Regions from separate parts of the Homo sapiens genome. Here region 2 is linked to region 1. The links are contacts of gene promoters, found by promoter capture Hi-C in blood cells and fetal thymus (Javierre and others, 2016). All regions are on one chromosome and are shown on one strand. Each heading gives the region's core, a stretch centred on a gene start or on the middle of the fragment in contact. The rest is flanking DNA. Distances are from core to core; before and after follow the strand shown. Region 1 holds the start of CDK16 (cyclin dependent kinase 16). Region 2 has its middle 1.6 kb from the start of ZNF81.

Evidence for each region. The method cuts DNA at HindIII sites, captures the fragments that hold promoters and counts their contacts. A CHiCAGO score of 5 or more calls a contact.
Region 2: a fragment that was not itself captured here is called in contact with the fragment with the promoter of CDK16 in region 1 in 1 of 17 cell types (fetal thymus); the score reaches 7.5 in fetal thymus.

Annotation. Positions count from the first base shown.
Region 1 is chrX:47,217,367-47,220,128 of GRCh38, forward strand. It overlaps CDK16 (cyclin dependent kinase 16), which reads left to right and starts at 1,315. Exons shown (of 16, transcript NM_006201.5): 1 at 1,315-1,739. LOC105373194 (a long non-coding RNA gene) reads right to left here and starts at 1,284. Exons shown (of 3, transcript XR_949047.4): 1 at 1,137-1,284. RefSeq lists silencers at 649-758, 1,459-1,618, 1,639-1,748, 1,759-1,828 and enhancers at 949-1,068, 1,189-1,258, 1,402-2,041. The HindIII fragment of the contact is 18,663 bases long and covers 1-2,762 here.
Region 2 is chrX:47,833,814-47,836,738 of GRCh38, forward strand. No RefSeq gene overlaps it. Among named protein-coding and RNA genes, the nearest start is that of ZNF81, 1.6 kb to the right of the region's middle. RefSeq lists an enhancer at 2,837-2,925. The HindIII fragment of the contact is 409 bases long and covers 1,110-1,518 here.

The DNA.
Region 1 (2,762 bases), core at 65-2,564:
TTTCCACTCCCATCATGGCCCGGGAAATCTCACTAATGTAAACCTTACTGAAAATCCTAACTGCTGTGATCAAGGCTGCCATAAAGGGAAGCCCGGAAGAGGCGGGGAGGCTGCCTTGGAACAGGGTAGTGTAAGGATGTGCCAGAAGGCCTGCTGGAGGTTGCAGCCCTTTGAGCTGGACTTGGGGATAGTGTGGTTTTCCAGGCAGAAGGAAGTGAAGGATTAGGTCGGCCTGGTAGTACTTGGCACACAACATGCGCCCAATAAATAAAATGGAAATAAAACCGCGGAGTGTTCTACTTGTGTTGACTGACATCAAAACAAAACAAAAAACCCTCAGAGTGAGGGGAGGCACGGGAGGGGCTGTGCCGGGCAAGAGAGGTGGCAGGAAAATCCAACGCACGGCGCCTATGCAAATACTCGTGTGAGGCAGAAAAGAGGCTCCGCCCCGCTCGAAGTTCCAAGCATGCGCAGTAGCGGCTCCTGCGCCTCTAAGGATCCGCCTCTTTCCTTCTTTCTCAGCCTGGGTTCCACCCCGGGAGGCCCGCTGTATGAGATGGAGGGCGGGCTAAAGGCGGGACGAGACTCGATTGAGCGCAATTATGACCAATCACCTTGCGGAATATTCGGCCTATAGCGAAGGAGGAGCTCAGAACAAAAAGGAGACCCCACCCCCGCCGACGGTGAAAACCTATGAAACCTGGGCGGAGGCGTGCGGAGTCGGGTAGAGAGCGAAATCACGCCTCTTCAGTCAGCCACGCCCTTTATTCTTGCTCGGCCTCGCCACAGAGAGCAAATCAGATTGGCTGGGCGACAACCTCAAAGGGCGGGGCTGCACACGTTCACTACGGGAATGAGGTAGCGGTGGAGGGGGCAGTTGGGCGGGGATAGGCCGTCCTAGCTAAGGTGGTAAAGGCCAATAACTCTTCAGGCTGCCTCTCCTCGAAAAGTCATCTTCTCGCGAACCTTTAAAATGCCTTCCTCCCCAAGCACCTCAAGGGACTAGAACTGAGTGCTTCATTTGTCTTTTTTCCTCCTTGCAAAAGTCCCGTTTGCCACCATGGGGATGTACCAAGTGAGACCGAGTAGGGGGAACGAGTGGTGATTGACGCGCCAGGTTACTGGCCACTGCTCACCTAGGCGCTAGCAAACTTCTGCCAAGATCGGAACTGAGTACTAAACAGCCTCCACAGTTCTCCCTGGTGCCGTCTCCGGCTTGGCGCCGCATCCTCCTCTGGGCTCGCGATGGCCGCGTCCCCTCCCGCTGCGGACGGGTCCTTTGGTACATGCAGTCCGAGGTGAGTCCCCTCCTTTCCACTTCACCCTTCCGAGCGCCTGCGTGCGCATGCGCGGAGCGCGGCGCGCGCGGCGGTTGGGCCGTTGGCTGTTCGGCCCTGGGATCCGCCGCCACTCCGCGATCAGACCGCTCTGTGCCGCGAGCCGCCGTGAGCACTCGGATTCAAGCCGGCGCCAACGAGTCCGGGGGCATCGCCCGCAGCGGCCAAGCTCATGGCCGGCTGAGCGGGACGCCGCCTCCGCCTCAGCCACCGCCGCCGCCGCCGCCTCCTCCTCCTCAGCCGGCGGCGGCCCGGGCCCAGCAACCATGGCTGAAGACTACTGGGACGGGCGCCTGCGGCGAACAGGAGGAGAAGGAGGTCGCGCGGCCTCATCCCGGGCCGCCGCCCCAGGCGCCGCCGCGCCGGCCCCGCGGCTCTGAGGTTGCTCGCGCGCCCCCGCCGGTGAGCGCGTCCCCGAGGCGTGGAGGCTGCCCCTCCTCCTTCAGAACCCACCTCGGGCGGTGCCCAGGGGTCTGGGCTGCGGGGCTGGCAGGTGCCCCCACCCCCGGCGAATTTCCCAGAATGCACCGGGGCGGGGGGTCATTTGGGGCCTCCCTGACCTTGGCCCCGCCCTGGGCCTGTCCTGGGAGCTGGGGTTGGGTAGTGCTGTGGGTGCTAATGGGGACCTGGGGGAGTCAAAGGACCAAAGGGTGTGGAAATGGGTGACAATGGGGTGAAAGACTTGGGGGGGTTGCTGATGGGGGTCGGAGCATGTGGCAGTAAGCCTCACGCCAATAAGTCGTGTAAGGTTCAAGGCCCCGTGTGTGCTTGTGGAAGGAGGGCGGGGTGCGGAGCGGGTGAGGGACCCGAGGGTGTATAACGGGGGGTAGGGTGTCGAGGAAGTTCTAAGACATGCTCATAGGGATTATGTCCGCAGAGAGGCCCGGTGTGTGTTCATGGGGGACAGGGTGGCACAGGTACCAGAACGTGTGTTGGTGGGGTCAGGGCTCTGAGGCCTGGTGCGTGGCGATGAGGCCCTGGATGGTGTTAATACTGCGTGTCTGTCCGTGGGGCCTGCAGTGTGTGAGAATGCAGTGTGTGCTTGTGGAGGGCAGGTAGCTGAAGGACTCGAGTGTGGTGTGTGCGCCAGTGGGGGTCATGGCTGTAGAGGGTGTATGCCTGTGGCCTCGAAGGTCTAGGTAGTTTGGGACCCAGTATATGCTAATGAGGGCAGAGTGGAGGAAGGACCTGAGGGTATCTAACGGAGGAAGGACTGTGGAATACCTGAGCCTGGCCTAAAGGAGATGAGAATTGCGTGTCTGTCTGGGCCCAGGAAGGAGTGGTGGGGAAGTGTCTTAGCACTGTCAGAGGCTTAGTGGACGAAGGGTAAAGGTGATGTGAGGTGTGAGTGTGTCCATGGACACAGGGAATGTGAGTCTCGAGGGCACACTAGGAAGGAGCAGGGTAATAGAAGTACTGGTGGTT
Region 2 (2,925 bases), core at 64-2,563, 620 kb after region 1:
AAAAAAAAAAGGAGGAGCGACCTCAGCTAGCATGCTCAGCCCCTTCACTGTGTGATACCCTGTGCTACCTTGGGACTCTGCAGAAAGTCCCTACCAGAAAGAAGGCCCTCACCAGTTATTGCCCTTCAACCTTGGACTTCTCAGCCTCCGTAACTGTAAGAAATAAATTCCTTTTCTTTAGAAATTACCCAGTTTCAGGTATTCTGTTGTAAGCAACAGAAAACAGACTAAGAAACATGCATATCCTAGGTTTCTTGTGCAAGTGTTTCTCTTGGTTACATTCATGAGAGTGGACTCACTGGATTGTTAAGGTATGTATATATTCACTGTAGGAGAAAATGCAAAAATATTTTCTAAAGTGGTTGCACTGATTTACATTCCTTCAACAGGGCAAAAAGATCCTGTTGGCCCACATACTCTCCAACTCTTGGTATTGTCAGACTTTTATGTTTTTGCAATTTGAATGGGTATAAAATGTCATTTTTATCATGTCTTGATTTGTATTTCCCTTATCACAAATGACTTTGAACATCTCTTTATATGTTTGCTGGCTCTATATCTCCTTCTTCTCTGAAGTGGTCTAACAGAACTTTCTTTTTTTTTTTTTTTTGGTACTATTATGACATCCAAGAACACTAACAGTGATTCTTGGCACTCTATTAGAAGTGTATGCATGCCAAATATGCTTCCACTGATTCCATTCTTCTTTCATTTATTCATTCAACAAACATTTGCCCAGACCAGGGATGCAGGGGCAGAATGACAAGCTGGGATAATCAAAGTTCAACTGCTATGGTTCAAATGTTTGTCTCCTCTGAAACTCATATTGAAATTGCCATTGTAACAGTATTAGGAGGTGGGGCCTTTAAAAAGTGAATAGGTCATGGAGGCTCCATTCTCATAAACTGATTAATGCTGTCACTGAGGGAATGGGTTAGTCACCTCAAGAGTGGGTTGTTATAAAGTGAGCCCAGTCCCTTGTGCTTTCTCTTTGTTCATACACTTGCTTGCCCTCTTGTCCTCTGCCATGGAATAATGCAGCAATAAGGCCCTCACCAGATGCTGGCACCAAGTTGGACTTCCCAATCTCCAGAACTATGAGCCAAATAAGCTTATTTTCTTTATAAATTACCCAATCTGTGATATTCTGTTACAGTAGCAGAAAATGGACAAAGATACCAACTCTCTAAAAAAATTAAAATGAAAATCGGACTATAAAAATCTGCCTTGCTATTCATCAGGATGGAAGAACAGACACATATAAAGCCAAATGCAAAATTCACAGGAAACATTATTTCTTCTAAGGACAGGCTGCAGTTGTAATGCCATAAAGAACCCCTACTTTAAGTGCCTATTGCTTTCTTGGTCAATGAGAAACTTTGTTCTCTACAATCATAGACTATCAGAAACTTTGCTGTTTGAAATGATATCAGTAAGAGGGAAACATCTGATTCTCATGGGAGATTCTAAGTCACTTCCAGACAGAGAAGCAAGATTCAATTTTCAACCCAGGTGCAAAGCTTTAGGCAAGAGTTATCTGGGGACACAAAATTCTACATCTAAATTGTTTCCAAGGAAACAGCACTCTGGGTTCACTTCACAGTCCAGACCTGACAATTACCCTTTACATACAGCCCTGCTTTCCTTTGAGCCCACTAAAACACTGCTTCATTTAATTTCATCTGAACTCCACTATTCCTCAAAATCCTATAAGAACTCTATCTTTTCCTTTGCTTAGTGAGCTGCCCATGGTGCCCCTGGTGTGCAGTCTCCCTTATTGATTGCTGGATCTGTCAGACTAAAAATTAGTTTGAGGCTAATTGGACTAGGACACCTCTAACCTTCGAGATTGTTAAACCGAGGGCCAGAGGGGATAAGACTGGATTGAGAGCCCCCAGCAAGTCCACACTTCAGCCTACACCAGGTCCTCTCAAAATATTTTTTTCACCTGAGGATTCAGAAAGGCTTTCAGGAGGGCACACAGGCTTCTAGCTCTGTCAGGATTCTCTGGAGGAGGAGATATTTGAACTTGATTTTGAAGGATGAATAGGCATTCTTAGGTGAAGGACTGCACGACTTCTTCCCCTTCTGCTCCAGTGACATCTCCCAGAGGGCAGGGGCATCTCCAGAATTTACACATTGGAGGTGATATGGAGCAGCAAACTGGTTGAAGGGTAGAAGCAGAGCCTTGTATTAAAGCTACATTTCCAAAGTAAGGGCACCATGACCACATATATTTTACTTCATGAGGAAATAAAAATAATAAAGTTTCCTAAAGATTTTTATTGACATATTGCATTGGACTAAGGACACATTAAAAATTATTAGTATTGGTACTACGTAGTCCCTTTTTAGCTGGGGTAGATGGAGTGGGAGATAAGGTAAATTGCTGCAGCATTCAAACCTCGCATCCAAGCCCCACAGGCACAGCAGGAGGGGAACCCAGCACTCTGAGTTCTCCCTTTTTCCCACCTCATGGCATATCCTAGGAGGGCTTGCATAACCATGATTTCTCCTCCTCCTCCTCCCCTTGTGGTATGTCCTAGGAGAAGCCTGTAACCAGCCTGACATCTCCCCGCTTCTCATCCTGTGGTATCTGCCAGGAGATAGCCGCGGCCGCCCCTGATTCTTTCCAAGAGGCCCTTCAGTTTCTCGGAGCGGTATCACACAGATCCATAGACTACAGGTCCAAAGACCCCCTCCTCCAGTTAGCCCGCCCAGAGAAACGTCCCCACCCGTGCTCCCTGCCACCAGCGGGACAGCTCCACCTGAGTTTAGAGCAGACAGCTCTAAACTCACAGCCTGCTCTGTGAGTTCAGAGGTGTCCTCATCCTCAATACGGATGGACACTCCTCCAACATGGTGTATCCCATGGGGAAGCGCGACGTGGGCGCGGCCATGTTCCCCACCTGACCACGCCGCCGA